Regions from separate parts of the Homo sapiens genome. Here region 1 is linked to region 2. The links are contacts of gene promoters, found by promoter capture Hi-C in blood cells and fetal thymus (Javierre and others, 2016). All regions are on one chromosome and are shown on one strand. Each heading gives the region's core, a stretch centred on a gene start or on the middle of the fragment in contact. The rest is flanking DNA. Distances are from core to core; before and after follow the strand shown. Region 1 overlaps MDM4 (MDM4 regulator of p53). Region 2 holds the start of NFASC (neurofascin).

Evidence for each region. Contacts are between HindIII fragments. The CHiCAGO score rates a contact against its expected background, and 5 or more counts as called.
Region 1: a contact is called between a fragment that was not itself captured here and the fragment with the promoter of NFASC in region 2, in 1 of 17 cell types (endothelial precursors). The highest score is 5.2, in endothelial precursors.

Annotation. Positions count from the first base shown.
Region 1 is chr1:204,530,046-204,534,288 of GRCh38, forward strand. MDM4 (MDM4 regulator of p53) reads left to right here. Exons shown (of 11, transcript NM_002393.5): 4 at 639-772; 5 at 2,146-2,201. Among named protein-coding and RNA genes, the nearest start is that of MDM4, 16 kb to the left of the region's middle. The HindIII fragment of the contact is 1,657 bases long and covers 1,217-2,873 here.
Region 2 is chr1:204,827,364-204,831,529 of GRCh38, forward strand. NFASC (neurofascin) reads left to right here and starts at 1,289. Exons shown (of 30, transcript NM_001005388.3): 1 at 1,289-1,419. The HindIII fragment of the contact is 3,169 bases long and covers 493-3,661 here.

The sequences.
Region 1 (4,243 bases), core at 795-3,294, 300 kb before region 2:
TTTGTATGTTATGTAGAGACAGGTTTTGCCATGTTGCCCAGGCTGGTATCAAACTCCTGGGTTCAAGCAATTTGCCTGCCTTGGCCTCCCAAAGTGCTGGGATTACAGGTGTGAACCACTTCAGCCGACTAAATTTTTATTTGATAAACACTTGGATTTTATGTTTTGTCCACTTACAATGCTGATGGCTCTTATTAAACATTGTACTTCATTTGCCAAAAAGAATTATTATGTGAACACATATCAAAAGCCTAAAGTCGTTTATGTGCCCTGGACTGGGAAAATATTTTTATAATCCAGGCAAATTACTTCTAGTAATAGAATAGACTTCTTTATTTGGACGTCTGAGAAAATTTTTAAGAGGATACTAGGTAAATTCACTGCTTTTTCTCATTGTCAGATCAGTTCATTTCTGTGCTGAAAAGTCTGGGTCTGTTAATTGTCAGAAAGACAATGAGTAGATGGACCTAGTAGTTGGGAGCGGCTTTCCTGTTGTAGGACCCCTTACACAAACTTTGACAGTCTTGTAAATATGTTATTTCTTTCTTTAGCAAACTAACTTACCTTACCTCCTCTAATGAATTTGTGTTTTTGGTAGCAGCTGGACAGATCACAACATGGTATTTTATTCCATGCAGGTCATGCACTATTTAGGTCAGTACATAATGGTGAAGCAACTTTATGATCAGCAGGAGCAGCATATGGTATATTGTGGTGGAGATCTTTTGGGAGAACTACTGGGACGTCAGAGCTTCTCCGTGAAAGACCCAAGGTAAAAACAGTGAGGGCTTGCGTATCTTTTTGGGTGCTTATACCTAGCCACTTAATTTCTATGGGTTATTAATATTTATTACTTCACTCAACAAATATGTAAGAGCCTACATATGTTAGGTAGCCTATGAGGCACTGAGAATATGGTAATGAGCGACACACAGTCTGATTTTATGGAGTATACAGAGTAGTGAGTCAGTAGATGCTCTTGCCCATCTTAGTCAAATAATCACACTAATTCATGGTAAACCTACACTATGGCAAGTGCTACAGAAAAGAGATACATGAAGCAGGGAGTGGGTGGGATTTAGAGTGTTAGAGGTCAAGAAAATGTTCTTTTGAGGAAGTGAAATTTCAGCCAAAAGCTGAAAGATAGATAATTAAGTAGTCAATCAGAGAGTTTGAGGTTGATTGAACACCATGTGTAAAGGCCTGGGTAGGAGGAAGCTTGATGTGACTAGGTTAGAATTTTGTGAAATAATTGTTGGAGAGGGAGGAAGAGTGAGCAGATGAGAGAAATGTAGAATTGCTGGGCAGTTAGAGGTTGATGATGAGCCTGGTAAGAATCACAGTAGGGCTAACCTGACCTGTTACTTTTCTCCAGCTGCATGGGGTGTAAGTTATTAGCTTATATAGTCAAAAGCTAATTAGTAATTTAGAAGCTCTCTTTCTCTATAGCTTTGATGACTGCTGCTTCTGAGCTCATTCTGTCTTACACTAAGACTTCCCTTAGCTGGGTGTGGTGGCTCAAGCCTGTAATTCCAGCACTTTGGGAGGCTGAGGTGGGTGGATCACCTGACTTCAGGAGTTCAAGACCAGCCTGGCCAACATAAGTGAAACGCCGTCTCTACTAAAAATACAAAAAATTAGCTGGGCGTGGTGGCGGGCGCCTATAATCCTAGCTAGTAGGGAGGCTGAGGCAGGAGAATTGCCTGAGTCCGGGAGGCAGAGATTGCAGTGAGCTGAGATTGTGCCATGGCACTCCAGCCTGGGCAATAATAGCAAAACTCCGTCTCCAAAAAAAAAAGACTCCCCTCCACCCCCACTTTCCAATTACAATGTGAAACTTCAGTCCTGGAAGGAAGGAATAGTTTCCAAAAGAGATTTCCCCACTTGGATTACTGTTCGCTAATGAAATAAAATGTAAATTAATCAGTTTTTTAATGGGGGCAGAGTAACACAGGGGCCTGGGCATTAACATCTTAATATTTAAATAATTAAAAACTGTTCTGGGAAAAAGATTCTGCCTTTGTATGCCTTACAGAGAGACTTGGGAGATAACATCAGAAATACATTTAATATTTAACGGCAAACCACTGATATCTTCATAGTGGCATTTGGGGTTGTTAATTTTTTATCTTCTCTCTTTAACAGCCCTCTCTATGATATGCTAAGAAAGAATCTTGTCACTTTAGCCACTGCTACTACAGGTATGTCACATCATATTTCTTCAGTCTGTATCACAGCTTTGAGTTCAAGGGGGCAAATGATGGGAAAACAAAGAAGATGAAGGTGGAAATGGAATGCTATCTTTGGCATGACTGGGAGAAATACATACTACCTGTCACACAGAATGTTATGTTATTAACTTTTTACTGAAAAATCAAACATAGAGTAGAAGGATTTCCACTTTCTAGACGTACTGTTAACGTTTTGTCATATTGCTTCATCTAGACACACTTTTAAAAATCTCTAGCAGATAAGGACTTTTTTCTCCAAACATTCAATATCATTATTACACATAACAAATTTAACATGTAATTCCATAATCCTATTTCATAGCCAGTTTATGTATCATTTCCCCCAGTTATCTCAAAAATACCTTGTATTTTTGTCTTACTTGAATTAGGATCCAAAGTCCACACATTGCCTTTGGTTGATATGTCTCATAAGTGTCTTTAATCTATAAAACTTAACTTTCCTTTTGTTTTCATGTCATTTACGTGTTGAAGAAATGGGTCATTTGTTCTGTAGAATTTCCCACGCTCTAGAGTTGGCAGATTGTATCCTTGTGATTTTGTTTAATGTGTTTCTTTACCCTCTCTATTTTTGGTAAACTGGTAGTGCTTGAATAAATTCAAGTTTAAATTTTTTGCCAAGAAAGCTTTATAGGTAATGCTTTGTACTTCTGTTTAATCACATCAGAGTCATGTAAGGTCTGCCTGTCTATTTTAGTCAGTCATGTTAATAATCTGTGGGCTCAGGTGGTATCAGTCTGATCCATCTGTTACACAGGTCACTCAAGAACCTTTTACCTAATGGCTTTAGCCATCTCTTATCTGAATGCCAATTTGTCTAACCCTTTGCTTGATTCTAGACCTTCTAAATACTGCTCTTTAACTATTAGGTATGTATAGGAAACTGGCTGTACTGGAGTCTGGAGTCTCCAAAATGGTGGTCTGTAAGAGATAGGTAAATAAACTGGACAGACTGAACATAGCCATTTCCAAATAATGAAACTTTTTCCCTCTCCACTACTACATAAAGCCCTTTTGTGAGCTTCATATTAACATTGCCCTTTGAAGAAAGCCCAAGTTAGTAATCTTTTTAGATTGACCATCTTTTTTTCTTCTCAGGTTGCCCAGGCTGGAGTGCAGTGGCACTATCTCAGCTCACTGCAGCCTGGACCTCTCGGGCTCAGGTGATTCTCCCACCTCAGCCTCCCGAGTAGCTGGGATTATAGGCACATGCCACCATGCCTGGCTAATTTTTTGTATTTTTAGTAGAGACAGGGTTTTGCTGTGTTGCTCAGGCTGATCTTGAGCTCCTGGACTCAAGCAGTCCACCCACTTTGGCCTCCCAGAGTCCTGGGATTATGCGTGTGAACCACTGCACTTGGCCACTGCCACTGTCTTTTGATAGTTTACTGAACTGTCTTTTGCACTGTCTTTTGATAGTTTACTGAAATAAGTAGGTTGAGAAGAATCCATTCCTTTTTATCTTTTTCTTTCTTTCTTTTCTTTTTCTTTTTTTTTTTTTTTAAATGTAGAGCGTCTTGCTCTGTCACTCAGGCTGGAATGCAGTGGTGCAATCATAGTTCACTGCAGCCTTTACCTCCTGGGCTTAACTCATCTTCCTGTCTCAGCCTCCCAAATAGCTAGGACTATAGGTGCATGGCACTGCACTGCACCTGGCTAATTTTGTTTTTTTGTAGAAATGGGGTCTTGCTTTGTTGCTCAGGTTGGTCTTGAACTCCTGGCCTCAAGTGATTCTTCCACTTCAGCCTCCCGAGGTGTTGGGATTACAGGCATGAGCCACCGCCCCCAGACCTAAATCAATTACTAATAAAGATTTATTCTTTAAAGGCAGAGAAAGAGACATTGCTGTCATACCGAAACATGATTTTGAACTTACTGAATTTTGAAGCCTGTTAGTCTCATTGAGTCATATGCCCACTTCACATAGCTGTAAATTTGAGAGTGAAGATCCTGCAAATGATACGGCAGCTTTATTGAAATTCAATCACTTGTAA
Region 2 (4,166 bases), core at 39-2,538:
GTGTATTTGCTGTTTAAAAGTAATGAAGAAAGGGGAGGGAAGGCTGAACAATAATTAACATTTGTAAAGAACAGTTTGGTTCAGTACCTTATCTCATTGATGCTCACTCTATGCCCATTTTACAGATGGGAAAAAGAAGACTTAGAGAGGTTAAGTGAACTGCCCAAGTTTACCCTGCTGGTAAGCCAGGACTTTCTTGGCAAATCCTGTGATCCTTCAACTTGACCATATTAGAAGATTCTAGTATTGGTGAAATCTAAAACTTGTAGGGCCCATCTTAAAATAGCAAAGTAGTTTTAACTAGGCACTGTCAGATGCATCTGGGCTTTGAATTATTACTTGGGCAGGTTCCTTGAACTTTGGTGTTCTCATCCAGAATAAAAGACAGTGGTGCCAGGGTAGGAGCTATGAGCACAGAGAAAGTAGCCCTTGAATGGGGCCACAGAGGGATGCTGCAGGGGACTGTAGTTTTGGATGAGGAGCTGAACTAGAAGCTTCCAAGTGCTCTTCCAAGACAAAGATTCTATGATTCCCTAACTGGGATCTTTCCACTGTTTCAGGTGATAATTCTGAGCTCAGATCCTGTGCACAGAACCTAATGCAGTCTTCGTGTCAGAGCTAGAAGAGACCTTGGGCGACCACCCAATCAACTTTTCATGGTTCAGTTGTGGAAACTGATGTCCACAGATAAATGTCTTGCTATCATGTCAGATAGTTCTCCAGCCACGACTGAGGCCTGAGTCCCCCTAGGGCAGAGGAAATCTCCCATTTCTAAAAGAAAGCCCCGCACTGTTCATAGCAGTCACAACCTCTCTCACATCCCTGAATCAGGATCCAACGACTTGCCAATCAACAAATGTTGCTGGAGAGTTTACCACAAACAAGTCTCTGTGCTAGGCCCTGAGAACACAAGCTGTCCGGCAACTTCCTGCTCCCTAAAGTCACAGTCTATGGTGGAGGTGCAAACAAGCGATCCTGTTGGGGCTTCAGGGTACTTCCTCCTGTGTGCTTTGCACGTAGTAGGTGCTCAGCGAACGGAAACGGGGAGACTAGTTATCACTCTCCAGGCAAGCCCGCAAAGAGGCCTCAGGTGAAAAGAGAAAGGAGGATTTTTTTTTCCGGCCCTGGCTCTGCGCACCGCTCCCCAGCGCGCCAGGCGGGGCTGCGTCCGGAGCATCCTTCCCTCCGCCTCTGTCCTGGTCCCCGCTCAGCGGCCGCTAGGAGCGCGAAGGGAGGGGCGCGGGGGCGCGCACGCAGGGTGTCGGGGGCGCGCCGGCCGCCCGGGGACGCGCACGGGCTGGTCTCTGCCCTAATGCGGCGGCTGGCGGCGAGAGGCGCTGCAGGGGACGCGGGGGAAGTGGCGGCGCCGGCAGCGGACAGCTCGGACAGCGCCCAGGGCCGGAGCCCGAGCCCTTGGAGGTAGGCGAGCGCGAACACCGGAGAGATGGGGGTAGAGAGTCATGGAAACCCACCTAGCGACACCCCCTTGTTCCCGCCCTCGTCTGTCTCCATCCCCTGACCTGCCCCCTCCCCCTCCGTCCACATTCCCATCCCTTCCCCTCTCCACACTGTCACCTGCCCCGAATCCATCCGATTCTGTTCGTATGCCCACCCCGTCCCCGTCCAGCTCCCAGCCCCCTGCCCACCCCAACACCCTTTCTATCTCGTTGGCCGCGTCCCCTCCCCCTTCCCGCATCCTCAACCCTTTCCCTTTCCTCTCTGTCCCCGCCTCATCCGTGAGCCCTGCCTGCCCTTGTACTTCTGTTTACCTCGACACCCCACTTTGGATGACCCCATGCCTCCTGTATTTCCTACCGCACACATCAGCCCCTTCTTGCCTCCCCTATTCTCTTCCCCATCTCATGCCCCTACCAGTTGGTGTCCTGTCTCTCCATTTGCTCCCTCAGTTTCTGTCCTCCCCTGGTTCCCCCTTGCACGCCCTGTCCCAGCCCCTTCCCAGCTGCCTCTTGGTGTCCTCCTGCATCACAGTCCCTCTCAAGAACCCCGCCTTCTCCCCCCTTTGGCTGTTAGCTGGCCTGACACCCGTCACCTTCCCTAGCTGCCCTTCCTGGTGCTGTGTGGAGCCATACAGCCTGTACCCAGCCCTCCCTCAGTGGCCTCTGGACCCCCCTTCCCTGGGTGGGGATCTTGGTTGTGGAATATAACCCCTTTCTGCATGTTCGATCCTATTTGTGGCTTGGGGAAGAATGCTGGGGGTTAGTAGGCCTCTCTCTTATGTTCCTCTCCAGCCATGCAGCCACTCTACTCCTCTAGCTGTTCAGGTTTGTTTCCTAGATGGATTGGGGGAGGGGGTGCTAGGCATTGGGAAACTAGGATGGGGAAGGGGCAGGGTCCAGGGGAATGACTGAGCAGACTCCTCCTGGGGCTTGGCCTGAGCCCTGATGTAAAGGCCTGGATGAGGAGCCCTGCTGGAGGGCTGGATAATTTTGGATTTTAGAAAAGATTCTGCTTCAGCCTCCAAGTCAGCACTTTGGCATCTGGAGCTGTCATGAGTGTGGCCCATGGGCTGGGCCAAGAGTGGGCAGAGTGCTGAATCACCTAGAATCTGGTCCCCATGGCAGCCCCCATCCTGTCCTGAGCCAGGTTCTGCTCCTGACTCCTTCCTTGGCATTTTGGCATGGGGTGTGTGTGTGTGTGTGTGTGTGTGTGTGTGTGTGTGTGTTGAGCAGAGATGCCTCATCCCTCAGTGTGGGGGAGAGGACAACAATACCCCTTTTCTGCCTGCCTGTGTCCCTGGCATGAGGGCCTAGTGCGTCTCATCTACCCTTGGAAATGTGCTGGGCCCTGCTGGGCCTCAGTCAAATCTCCAGCAAGGCAAGGGCAAGCCACAGGGCTTTGAGACCTGGTTGGACAGGAGTTTAATTGTTTGTGTGGAGCCAAAGCCAGCCTCAGAGCCCACAGAACTTAAAGCAATAGGAGAATAGCCCAGGGAAAATGTGTGTGAAGAGTGGAAGCCTCTGGGGATAGGGGCCATACCAGCTGTGAGGTGGGGGCAGTGGAGGAAGGCAGGCAGAGATCTATCCTCCTTCTGGTTTGGGGATGATTGGATGTGGTGGAATTGCATTGCAGGAAGAATTGAAGGAGATGGGGGCCTGCTACGCAGCTAATACATTTCACCTTTTGTCTTGACTGAGCTGGCACTTCGGAGGGAGTAATTTCTCCCCTTGTCTTTGGATTCAACTGAAGGGGTGTGTTGTGTGTGTTGTGATGTGTGTGTGTGTTGTGATGTGTGTGTGTGTTGTGATGTGTGTGTGTGTTGTGTGATGTGTGTATAGAGAGAGAGAGAGAGAGAGAATTATGCCAGTAAGGAAAGAGACTCACTCCCACTTAGCCCCAGAAATTGTGGTTGCCACTGTGGAACAGGGAATGGCAGCCCGATTCCTGTCTTAGGGGCTTAGACGAAACCCAGAGGCTTAAATTGAGGCGTTAAGAGCGAATTGCAGACAGACTCTGTCCCTTCTCTGCAAGGCTTTCACTTTAGGAATCCAAGTGACTGGACTCCTTCAGCTCCTGTGCAGTAAACTCTGAATGGGCCTCAGGCAGTGCCTGGCAAGGGGATGTGCTGCTGGGGGCACTGGCTGCACCTTGCTTTGTCACCCTTCTCCGTCGCCTCTCCAGCGTGAGAGGGGGTGGGGCTGGAAGCTTTCCCTGGCATCAGTGCCTAAGGGCTGCCAGCTTTTCCTGGTACAGGGAGAAAGCATTACCTGCAGCCGTTGTTGAGAGCTGATTGGATTAAGGTCCTGATGTTGAAATGCTTGACTGGAGCTCAGGTGAAGTGGGGGATTCTAATAACAGTGTACATATTTCCCAGTTTTGTGCAATGAATTTCACCCCTCACCCCCTTGTTTGGCATCAGAAAGAGTACGGAGAAATAAACCAAGGCACACGGAGGGAGAAGCCAGCTCCCCAGAGAGCTGGAGCAAGACCTTCCAATTGTACCTAGCCAGCTCCCTGTGGGCTGAACTGGCTGCGCTCACAAGGGCTGGTTCTTTTAAGGCACACATTGAAGAGGTGGCTGAGAGCTGGGGGTGGGGTTCTGGCTTTGCATTTCTGGGGTGGGTGGGCCAGAGGAGGGTCTGATTTCTGTGGTGAGTGAGAGACAGGATGCCAAGGCTCTGATCAGTATATTGCAACTTGTTTCCTAC